3 separate regions of the Homo sapiens genome follow, and all the other regions are linked to region 3. Evidence: promoter capture Hi-C in 16 types of primary human blood cells and fetal thymus (Javierre and others, 2016). All regions are on one chromosome and are shown on one strand. Each heading gives the region's core, a stretch centred on a gene start or on the middle of the fragment in contact. The rest is flanking DNA. Distances are from core to core; before and after follow the strand shown.

Region 1 (3,554 bases), core at 26-2,525, 100 kb after region 3:
GCCCCTTTCCATCTTGAGATCTGTGACTCAGGTTCTAATGCCATATGCTCCAGGGCGCTCACCTCCTGCTGCTTGCTTCTGGTGAGCTCTGCTGCCTGGTGTTCCTCTTGAAGTCCCCTGAGAACCTCTGTCCGCTCAGCCTCATGCCGGTTCCAGCCCTCCACCACACGGGCCAGGGTCTTAGGTAGGGCAAGTAAGATGAAATTTCAAAATAACTTTTTTGCCTCTTTCTACCCACAGGGGCAGGGTCAACAGCCATCTTCTCCCAACAGTCAGCAAACCAACCCCTTGCCCAGCTCTCAGCATGTACCAAGAAACATTGGTTGGCCACCCACTTATTTATTATTCCTTAATGCTCTTCATGGAGAGACCCACCCACATTTTGCTACCCTGGTACCTTGTCCAGTTGTTCAATCATGGTATCTTTCTTGCGGTCGGCAGCCACAGCCACGGCTAATTGTTGCTGTAGCTCTAACACTCGGGTCTGCAGGCTCTGAATATGGCGCTCACAATGCTGGGGAAAAGGGTGAGGAGTCTGGGTGTTGCCCATCTTTGGTATGACCACAGCACCAAACTTTCCAGCTCCTCTAGTGGGGGAGTGGGCTGGAGCCAAGAAGCTTGGGTCCCAAGAACAGAATAGGTCTGGAGAGGGAGAATCAGGAAAATTCTGAAGCAAGCACCTTGAGGCTCAAGATCTCCAACATGTTTCTGTACCTTTTCAGGAGATAAGTGCTTAGATTCCAGGCTCCTCCTTTTCCTGGATCTCCTGAGTAAAAATCCCATAAACCTTTTGGCAGAGATGCAGCAGCCCACACAGCAAAATGTGCAAAGTTACTCCTACCTTCAGAAGCTCATTGGACACAATGAATAAACACAGCAAGGATAAAGGGGAAAGCCTTTCATTCATGCCAAGGGGTTTAACATGGAGAAAGAGAGGCTTCCAAAAATGGCAACCAGTGATTTTGACTTTTCCTCTCCTTTGTCTATTTCTCTGTCCCCTTCAGACACTAAGGCAGAGGCTCACAGAGATAAAGCTCAGTATATCACCAGTAGCTGTAAATCCTGTGCACAAGCTAGCAGAGTTTGTGTCCATTCGACAAACACAGAGTGTTTCTGTGTTATGTATATTCTAGACCTTAGGCAGCCAGTACTAAGACAAACAAGATACGGACCCTCAAATTTTAGAGAGGAGAAAAAAACAAGATATATCAGAACGATAAGCTACATGAAAGAAATAAGAAGGCGATCTGACTACTTGGAAAGGAGGTGGTGCCATATTAGATGGAATGGTCAAAAAAGCCCTCCTCAGAAAAACATTTAAGTCCCAGCTTTCAGGCTCTTAACCCTCAGCCCTTTTCTTTTTTAGTTTTTTTTTTTTGAGACGGAGTCTCGCTCTGTCGCCCAGGCTGGAGTGCAGCGGCATGATCTCGGCTCACTGCAAGCTCCGCCTCCCAGGTTCACGCCATTCTCCTGCCTCAGCCTCCCGAGTAGCTGGGACTACAGGCACCCACCACCATGCCCGGCTAATTTTTTCTATTTTTAGTAGAGACGGGTTTCACCGTGTTAGCCAGGATGGTCTCGATCTCCTGACCTCGTGATCCGCCTGCCTCAGCCTCCCAAAGTGCTGTGATTACAGGCGTGAGCCACCACGCCAGGCCCCCTCAGCCCTTTTCAACACTTGGGTCCCCTCTTTCTAATCTTTGCTGCTTTCGAAAGGAAGCGTTTGCATCTTACCTTGCGGCGGGTATGCTCTGAATCCAATGCATCTCTCAGCCCCTGAAAATCTGGGGGATTGAGTGGAGGCCCTGGCCGAAGGCTGGTGTAGCGGGGAAACAGCTCCTCCAGGGCTTGGGCTGAGCTAGATGGAGACAAGTCTTGCAGGGGCCGGGTGCTGAGCAAATCAGGTAGAGAATGTTAGGGCTGGGAAAGCTTTTGGAATCCACTTGTCCAACTGTGATATTCTACAAATGAGGAAACTGAGACCCAGAGAGGGCAAGAGACTTGTCCAAAGTCGTAAAGCTATATAACCATAGTGCTATAAATAACACACAGGTCTGTGATTCACTTAAAGGTTTCAGCAGAAACAAGCTAACTCTTTAGAGGGGAAGAATGACTGCAGGTTAAGAGAAAGCCAGGTACTAGGCAACAGATACCTGTGTTCCTGAAGGAGTAAAGGGGGCAGGAGACAGTAGAAAAAGATGAAAACTGAAAGGCAAGTGATAAGCCTCTTGGGTTCTTAAGAGGTACAAAAGCAATAAAGGGAGAAATAAGGAACAAAACACCTGGATTTCCAAGAAAGCAAACAAGCTAGGAGAACCACAAGGAGAACTCACTTGAGCAAGGTGGCTGTGCTATCACTGTCAAAGGAGTCCTCTTCCCGTCTCTCTGAGCCAGCGCCAGGAATGAGAGGATCCCCTGCAGGCAGCCAGAGGGACCCCAAAGCCAGAGTCAGGTAATGACAAAAACAGGGGCCACCTGAAGAGAAAAGGCCTTCCTTTCCAGTTCCCTCACTCCTTCACCCCCTCTCCCAAAGAACGGGAGACTTTTCTCCTGAAATCTCTTGCTCAGAGGTTTTCCTGCCTGCTTCCTCTGTCCACTTTCTCCCACCCCTTACATCTAGGTTCTCCTTCATAGTTCTAGGGAAGGGGCTTACTCACGATAGGCTGTATCACGTGAGGTTTGGAGCATGGTCTGGAGCTGACCCCGAACACTTTCCATCTCAAAGATATGCTTAGAACCATCCTGGAAAAAAGCCACATGGAAATCAGATGCAGTCTGTGTTATCTATCTCCTACCTATTGCCAGGGTAGAATTTTCACTCCAGCACTTTGGAAAACAAGAAAAACCAAACGGATCCAATAAGGGATGTCCTAAACTTGAATCAGAAATTCAAATACTACAGAAGCCAGAAAGAGAGTGTAAATAAAATAATCGAGGAGGTATAAGACAAGAGTTGCGGAGATTCTTGCCGATTCAAGAACAAATGTAAGGACTGTATGGCTTATGGCTATCATTTTCAAACTCTGGAAGACCTAACCAGTCTGCAAATTGACTCTGACACCTTTTCTATACAATACTAATAACTATCTTCTCTGTAACATGTTGTAGTTGACTAAGCTATGTCTTAATGATGTACATGCCAAAGTTGGAACCATACTATCAACATAGTGTTGAGCTGGAAGGATCGGAGCTGCTATCCTAAGTCCCTAGCTCCCTCTTGGGATCAAGAAACCTTACCCATTCCCAGTGCACGGGAAATAGCTCACCAACCTACCCCATAGGTTTGCTCTATCTACTCGGAGCAGAGATGTCTCTCACAAAAAAACACTGGGAAGTTTCATAATTTTCAAATTATGGTGTCCCAGGTCACTCCCTCCCTTATAAGCATGGCTGCCTATGCAGTTAAAAGGAATATGAAATCCAACAGGAAGAGTTCAAATCTCATCAAAGCTTTTTATTTTTACCAACCCCAATCCCAAGACTCTCTGGTGTCTAGTGCCACAGTGGTCTCCAAGACACACTTCCCTCACCTTTTTCTTCAAGTTCTTTTCCAA
Region 2 (3,857 bases), core at 362-2,861, 80 kb after region 3:
GACTGAGAGAAAGGGGTTGAATTTGTGTGGAATGCTCTCAACCCCACCCCCAGCATCAGCTGAACCTCAAGGTCGGGGCACAGAATCAGACACCGCTAAGTTTGAGGATCCTTGGGGTGGACCCCAAGATGGAAAAATACCCCAAAGCAGAAACGGCAGAGTGGTAACGGGGCAGAGGCCTCCCGGGGTCTGCCTGGCCCAGCCTGGACAGAGCAACAAGGGTCTTGGGAGTCCCACGGGGTTTCCCTGAGCCCAGAGGACCACAGGAGCAGCAGATGGAATTTCTGGGCCCCAGAGAAGGACATGGGGATTTCAAGGAGGATCACCTGCCCCGGAGAGGCCCCTGGGATGAGAACACAGGAAAAACAGCAGCAATAGCCTGGAGCTCCGGATGGGATGAAGCACATGCAACCACAGCATGATGTTGGGGAGAGGCAGGGGCCCTGCGGACTGTGCTCAGATTTGGGAGGGTTCCATGAAGGTGAGTATAGATGTGTGTTTTATTTTGTTTTTTATTTTTATTTATCTTTTATTAAAGACATGCTATTTTGACAAGTAGATTTGCTATTTATTTATTTATTTATTTATTTTTGCGACGGAGTTTCGCTCTTGATGCCCAGGCTGGAGTGCAATGGTGTGATCTCAGCTCACTGCAATCTCTGCCTCCAGGGTTCAAGTGATTCTCCTGCCTCAGCCTCCCAAGTAGCTGGGATTACAGGCGTGCGCCACCATGCCTAGCTAATTTTTGTATTTTTAGTAGACATGGGGTTTCACCATGTTGGTCAGGCTGGTCTCGAACTCCTGACCTCAGGTGATCTGCCCACCTCGACCTCCTAAAGTGCCGGGATTACAGGTGTGAGTCACTGCGCCTGGCCGATTTTCATTTTAGAAAGAGCACACCAAGTGGGAACGCTTGGAGAGAGCCATGAAAGGACAGAGGGAGACCAAGAGTGAAGTGGTCCCAATAACCCAGGAGAGAATAAGAGCAGGATGGGAGAAGTGAGGAGAAATTTCACACAGGAAGAATCAGCAGGTCATGGTGACAAACTGGATGTGAGTGGTGACAGAGACAGAGAAAAGGTCTTTGCTGAGATAGAGAAAGCAGAAAAATAGCAGGTTTAGGAAAGGAATCCAGTGAGTTCAGTTTGGAACACACTGATCTTTGTCTATGGGACAATCTAACTGTTAGCTATCAAGTAGGTAGTTCTCATAAACTAACAGTGCCCACAACCATTGCACAAGACTGCCCAGGAACATTCCGTAATAGCAAACACTCCATATTGCTCTTAAGTTGGTGTGCATGTATGTCTAGATATAGCAGAGATGAAGTAGGATGCTGGTTTTTCATACTGGCAACTGTTGATATTGAATGCTAGAACCACAAATACTTTTGTGAAGATGATTTAATAAATTTTCAAAAATTTAAGTATTTCAGCTTTATTAGAATGATTTTGCTTAAATGTTTAATATTTATTAGTTATAACTTGCATTTTTCATCTTTCTTTTTTTTTCGAGATGGAGTCTTGCTCTGTTGCCCAGGCTGGAGTGCAGTGCCGTGATCTCAGCCCACTGCAACCTCTGCCTCCCAGGTTCAAGCCATTCTACTGTCTCAGCCTCCCAAGTGGCTGGGACTACAGGCACATGCCACCACACCGGCTAATTTTTCTATTTTTTTTTAGTAGAGAAGGGGTTTCACCATGTTGGCCAGGCGGGGCTTGAACTCCTGACCTCAAGTGATCCGCCCACCTTGGCCTCCCAAAGCGCTGGGATTACAGTCATAAGCCACGACACCCGGCTGCATTTTTTATCTTAATAGTTGAAAATATTTTCAGAAGATAAAGATTTTTAAAATACTAGAAGAAAAATCACTTCTAAAACATGACAATTTAAAATTAAAAGATTCTACACTTCCTTAATTTGCATATTTTGATGTATATTTATTGAAAATTTGTATGTTTTTATTTATTTTGGGTTTTTCTTTTTGGGTTTTTGGACTTTTTTTGAGACAGAGTCTTGCTCTGTCACTCAGGCTGGACTGCAGTGACATGAACACAGCTCACTGCAGCCTCAACCTCCTGAGATCAAGCCTCCCGAGTAATGGGGACTACAGGCACGTGCCACCACTCCTGACTAATTTTAAATTTTTTGTAGAGGCGAGGGTCTCACTTTGCTGCCCAGGTGGGTCTTGAACTACTGGACTTAGGCGATCCTCCTGACTTGGCCTCCCAAAGTGCTGGGATTACAGGCTTGAGCACCATGCCTGGCCATGTACATTTCAAAAATAATTACCATAGCCAGCCACGGTGGCTCATGCCTGTAATCCCAGCACTTTGGGAGGACCAGGCGGGCGGATCATGAGGTCAGGAGATCGAGACCATCCTGGCTAACACACTGAAACCCCTTCTCTCCTAAAAATACAAAAAATTAGCCGGGCGTGGTGGTGCACAGCCTATGTGGCCATGGGCTTTGTTACATCTGGATAGAGCCCTGAAACACCTGCAGCCAGTCTGAGGAGGAAGCCGGTGTTGAGGAGGGAAGGATAGACACGAAAAGAACCTGAGTTCCTGGCAGGGTGTGGCGGTTCAGCTTGTAATCCCAGCACTTTGGGAGGCCGAGGCGGGTGGCTCACGAGGTCAGGAGTTCCAGACCAGCCTGACCAAGATGGTGAAACCCCGTCCCTACTAAAAATACAAAAATTAACCAGGCATGGTGGCGAGTGCCTGTAATCCCAGCTACTTGGGAGGCTGAGGCAGGAGAATCACTTGAACATGGGAGGTGAGCCAAGATTGTGCCAGTACACTCCAACCTGGGCGACGAGGGAAACTCCATCTCAAAAAAAAGAACCTGAGTTCCTGACTTCATTGTGCCATTAACCTTACCACACTCGGAGCCCACCCTGTTTCTGTGTCCTTCTTGCTAAAGACAACGTGAGTCAGGGTTTCAATTACGTGCCACCAAAATCATCCTAATGGATACATCATCCAAAAAATGCCTTGTGGGACACTGACAAATCTATGCCCTGAAGGCAACCTGTCCAGGTCACATGCACACAGAGGTTACTCTGTAAGTTCATTTCAAGCAAATAAGGGCAAGGCATTCTAGCATGGGAAATGACACGCCAGGGTGTCCTCAGTGAGTATTATTTGTACTTTTACTACACATCTGGTGGAAGTGTAAACTGGTGCGATCTTTTTGAAAAACAATTTGGCATTATGTTTTAAGGATCTTAAAAATGTTCAGACTGTTCGAACCAGTAATTCCACTTCTAGAAAACAGAGACACCAAGGTGTACATATGAGAATATTCATTCATCATTATTTATAACAGCAAAGAATGGTAAATATTTATTTAGTCCAATAAGTGGGGACTAAATAAATTTATATTATATATATATTTTATATAAAATTATATAAATATATATAAATTTATATAACAACAGTCATATAAATTATGGTCATATAAATTATGGTATACCTTGAGGACATAAAATTAAACAGCAGTTGAAAATTGTTTTAAAATAATATGTAATGAGATTAAGAGAAAAAAATTTGATGAGAACTATATGTACAATGTAATTCCGTTTATGTATGTGTGTGAGTGTATTAAAAAAGAAAATGATTCTCTGGGTGACAGAATTTCAGTTGATTTCTATTTTCTTATTTATAATTTTGCTTTCTAATCTTCTGTAATGAACAAGCTTTATAGGAGAAAATAAAGGTTTAAAATTCCAGTTAAGGCCGGACGCGGTGGCTCACGCCTGTAATCCCAGCATTTTGGGAGGCCGAGGCAGACAGATCCTGAGGTCAGGAGATCGAGACCATCCTGGCTAGCATGGTGAAAACCCGTCTCTACTAAAA
Region 3 (4,088 bases), core at 608-3,107:
TCACTAGCGGCCCCAACTCCTCTGTTATCTCCAAGTCCCAGTTTTCCCCTGTGATCTCCAATGCTGAGCCCAGAGCACAGAGAGAGCCCCCATCTCACCCCTTGCTAGCCCTGGAGGGTGAGTTTCCTGGGGCTTGAAGGGCGTGTTTCTGGCTCTACTCAGATTTCTGGGAGGACACAACAAGCCGATGCATGAAAAAGTCCCAGGGCAAGGAAGACACCAGCAAAGGTAAGGCATTTAAAGCAGTTTCTTTCTCTTTCTTTTCTTTCTTTCTTTCTTTCTTTCTTTCTTTCTTTCTTTCTTTCTTTCTTTCTCTCTCTTTCTTTCTCTCTTTCCTTCCTTTTCCTTCCTTCCTTTTTTTTTTTCTTTTTTTGAGATGGAGTTTTGCTCTGTCCCCCATGCTGGAGTGCAATGGCGTGATCGGCTCACTGCAACCTCCACCACCCGGGTTCAAGCTATTCTTCTGCCTCAGCCTCCCATGTAGCTGAGAATACAGGTGCCCGCCACCCTACCCAGCTGATTTTTGTATTTTTAGTAGAGATGGGGTTTCGCCCTGTTGGCCAGGCTGGTCTCGAACTCCCGACCTCCAGTGATCCGCCTCCCTCAGCCTCCCAAAGTGCTGAGATTACAGGTGTGAGCCACCACGGCACCTGGCCCTAGAGCAGTGTTTTTCAAACATCAGTGGCCACCAGAGTCATCTGGAAGGCTTGTCAAAACAAAAATTCCCACTCTACACCCTCAGTGTCGTAGTAGGTTGGAGGTGGCCTGAGAATTTGCATTTCTAATACGTTCCTGTAGACGCTGCTGATCCCAGGAGCAGCTTTGATAGGAGAGGTGGAGGCAGGGGCTTTTAATCTCTGTCATGACCAGGACACTCAAGCTGCCCCTCATCGTTTGGGCACACCCTCCCCCATCAGTAACCCCCTCCTCACTGGTACATCTCCTGCCGGGCCTGAAGCTCCTCCTGGCGCTGTTGCTGGAGCACAGGGTGGTGGTCTGCCCAGGACACCTTGGCTGTGGGAGAAGGGGAGTAGGTTGGGGTGGGGAGAGAAACTCACCATCACTACCACCAGCCACACAGTCTCCACGATTGCCACCCTCTACCAGGTCCCCTCCTCCCATAAGTACAGTTTCTCCTACACCAGGCTGCTACCTCCCGCTCCCCAAGGCTCCGCCATTCCCTCTCCTCTGCCCGCTACTCTGTGGCCACACCAGCTCACCTCTCCATTTCACCTGCCCTTCTCCCCAACCCCCAGTCCCCTACCCCTTCCTGTGCTCCCCCTGCAGCCCCAGCCCGGCCCGCCCCTCACCTGTACCCTCCTGCAGCACCAGGGTCCCCGCCCCCTCCAGCCACTGGTAGCAGGGGAAGAGGAGGTGGCCGCCCCGCGGCGGTGTCAGCTGGAACCAGCGGCAGAACCAGGCATCCGGGGCCAGGGGCCCCAGCAGGGGCAGCACTGGGGGCGCCTTGTGCACGCGCAGCAGCAGCACTCGGCCTACGTCCTCCGGGAGCGTCACCTGGAAGTCCTCCTCCTGAGGGGAGGTTAAGTATGCGTCAGGCCGGACCCTCCTGCTCGCCCCCTTCACCTCCACCCCATCCACTCCCACGCACTCACAGCGCCCGCAGTGAACTCCTTGCCGAGATTGTCCAGGGGCAGTGGGGGGCTCTCTCCCCGGGTCCCCACGATGCTGACAGACACTTTGTCCCATGTGCCAGCCCCGAAGGCTTCTCCGGTGGACACCCTGACCCTGAACTCGGCCATGCTGCCAGCCTAAGTCCAGCTCTCTACGGCGCACAGGGCTGCAGAGCGGGGCTCCCCCCTGGGACACGCCTGGTTATTGCCCCTGGTTATTGCCACTGACTCCAAGCCCAGTGGACTCCTCTAAAAAGCACGTCCGTTTCAGGGCGGGGAGGGGCGGGGCGGAGAGGCTGGAACACGCAACTAAAGTGGGGGTGGGCGGGGGATTGGCAGCGCTGGGAACAGGAGGGACTAAGAATACCCTGAGGTTTGGGGAACGGGGCCTTTCAGTGGTGGTGCCAGGCCAGAGAGCCTAGAGTTGGGACCCAGTTGGGGTGGGGGTAGATTTGTGCCCACCACGTCTGTTTGTTTTCCTTCTTAGCCTTAGAAGTCTATGCAAAAATATCACCCCATTTCCCACAACTCTTCTTGGGCCTGCGTTCATTATTTTTAAAATTTATTTATTTATTTATTTTTGAGACAGAGGCTTGCTCTGTCGCCAGGCTGGAGTGCAGCAGCATGATCTCGGCTCACTGGAACCTCCTCCTCCTGGGTTCAAGTGATTCTCCTACCTCAGCCTCCCCAGTAGCTGAGACAACAGGCGAGTGCCACCATGCCCAGCTAATTTTTGTATTTTAGTAGAGACGGGGTTCCACCATGTAGGCCAGGATGATCTTGATCTCTTGACCTCATGATCCGCCTGCCTCGGCCTCCCAAAGTGCTGGGATTACAGGCGTGAGCCACCGCGCCCAGCCTACATTCATTATTTTATTTCATTCAATAATTAATGTTCAGAACTACCTCTGTGCCAGGTGCTATGCTCACTGCTATTGATAAAGGCCCAGGCAAGACCTAGTGCTTGCTCTCATGGAGATTAAAAATCAAGTGTGAGGCCAGGCACAGTTGCTGGCCAACATGGTGAAACCCCATCTCTACTAAAAATACAAAAAAATTAGCCAAGCGTGGTGGCGGGCGCCTGTAGTCCCAGCTACTCAGGAGGCTGAGGCAGGAGAATAGCTTGAACCCGGAAGGCGGAGGTTTCAGTGAGGTGAAGTTGTGCCATTGCACTCCAGCATGGGCGACAGAGCAAATCTCGGTCTAAAAAAAAAAAATCAAGTGTGAGAGAAAATAAGTAAACCAACACATAATTTCAGATGATAATAAGTGCAATGAAGGAAATGAAACAGACTAATGTGAAGGAGTGAGAAGCAGAGGTGGGAAGGGAGGCGTTCAGAGCCTCAGAGGAGGTGAAAGGATCTGTCTGGGGAACAGAGTTTTGTGCAGAGGAAACTGTTCCTGAAGAGGCCCTGTGGTTAGGAAAAGCTTGGCTTGTTGGAGGAGGGAAAGGCAAGAGTGCAGTGAGGGAGGGATTTGGGGGAGAGATGCCAAGGGGAAGTTATGGATTTGGGCTTTGGGGGAATAACATAACAGATTTGGGGTTTTCGGTCTGGAGATGCTAAGTTTGAGATGGCCATTAGACATCCAAGTGGAGAACCCACGTCTGGGCATAGAGCTCAGGACTGCAGGTGTGCATCTTTGAGTCACAAGCACACAGGTACATCTATACCACAGGCTGGTGGAGATCACTAGGCAGAGAATATCCTATAAGTAGAGAAGAGAAGAGGCACAAGCTGTGCCCTAAGGTCCTCTGATATTTGGAAGTCATGCAAAGGAGTGGAAGCAGCAAAGTTCAGTCAATGAGGTAGGAGGAGAACGATGCCGGCAGACACTTTGTCCTCTTGTGCCTGTCACAGTGTTTCATGAAAGCCAACTGAAGTGAGAGTGACTTATCATGTATATTCCATATATACCATGGAATACTATACAGCCATGAAAAAGAATGAGATCATGGTCAGGCATGGTGTCTCACACCTGTAATCTCAGAACTTTGGGAGGCTGAGGCAGGCAGATCACGAGGTCAGGAGTTCGAGACCAGCCTGACCAACATGGTGAAACCCCATCTCTACTAAAAATACAAAAATTAGCTGGGTGTGGTGGTGACTGCCTGTAATTCCGGCTACTCAGGAGGCTGAGGCAGGAGAATCATTTGAACCCGGGAGGCAGAGGTTGCAATTCCAGCTACTCAGGAGGCTGAGGCAGGAGAATCACTTGAACCCGGGAGGCGGAGGTTGCAGTGAGCCAAGATCGTGCCACTGCACTCCAGCCCTGGTGATAGAGCGAGACTTCGTCTCAAAAAAAAAAAAAAAAAGAATGAGATCATGTCCTTTGTGGGAACATGGATAGAGCTGGAGGCCATTATCCTTAGCAAACTAACACAGGAACAGAAAACCAATATTGCACGCTCCAGTTCTTACTTTCAATTCTTTAGGATATATACCTAGTAGTAGAATT

The links. Contacts are between HindIII fragments. The CHiCAGO score rates a contact against its expected background, and 5 or more counts as called.
Region 1: a fragment that was not itself captured here is called in contact with the fragment with the promoter of ALOX15B in region 3 in 1 of 17 cell types (endothelial precursors); the score reaches 5.1 in endothelial precursors.
Region 2: a fragment that was not itself captured here is called in contact with the fragment with the promoter of ALOX15B in region 3 in 1 of 17 cell types (megakaryocytes); the score reaches 5.0 in megakaryocytes.

What each region holds. Positions count from the first base shown.
Region 1 is chr17:7,933,326-7,936,879 of GRCh38, reverse strand. It overlaps CNTROB (centrobin, centriole duplication and spindle assembly protein), which reads right to left. Exons shown (of 19, transcript NM_053051.5): 1 at 3,531-3,554; 2 at 2,658-2,742; 3 at 2,334-2,415; 4 at 1,735-1,891; 5 at 398-514; 6 at 63-179. Among named protein-coding and RNA genes, the nearest start is that of CNTROB, 2.9 kb to the right of the region's middle. The HindIII fragment of the contact is 1,312 bases long and covers 620-1,931 here.
Region 2 is chr17:7,957,096-7,960,952 of GRCh38, reverse strand. No RefSeq gene overlaps it. Among named protein-coding and RNA genes, the nearest start is that of CNTROB, 27 kb to the right of the region's middle. The HindIII fragment of the contact is 4,177 bases long and covers 1-3,699 here.
Region 3 is chr17:8,036,828-8,040,915 of GRCh38, reverse strand. ALOX15B (arachidonate 15-lipoxygenase type B) reads right to left here and starts at 1,857. Exons shown (of 14, transcript NM_001141.3): 1 at 1,614-1,857; 2 at 1,311-1,530; 3 at 933-1,014. The coding sequence starts at 1,760. The HindIII fragment of the contact is 10,323 bases long and covers 1-3,061 here.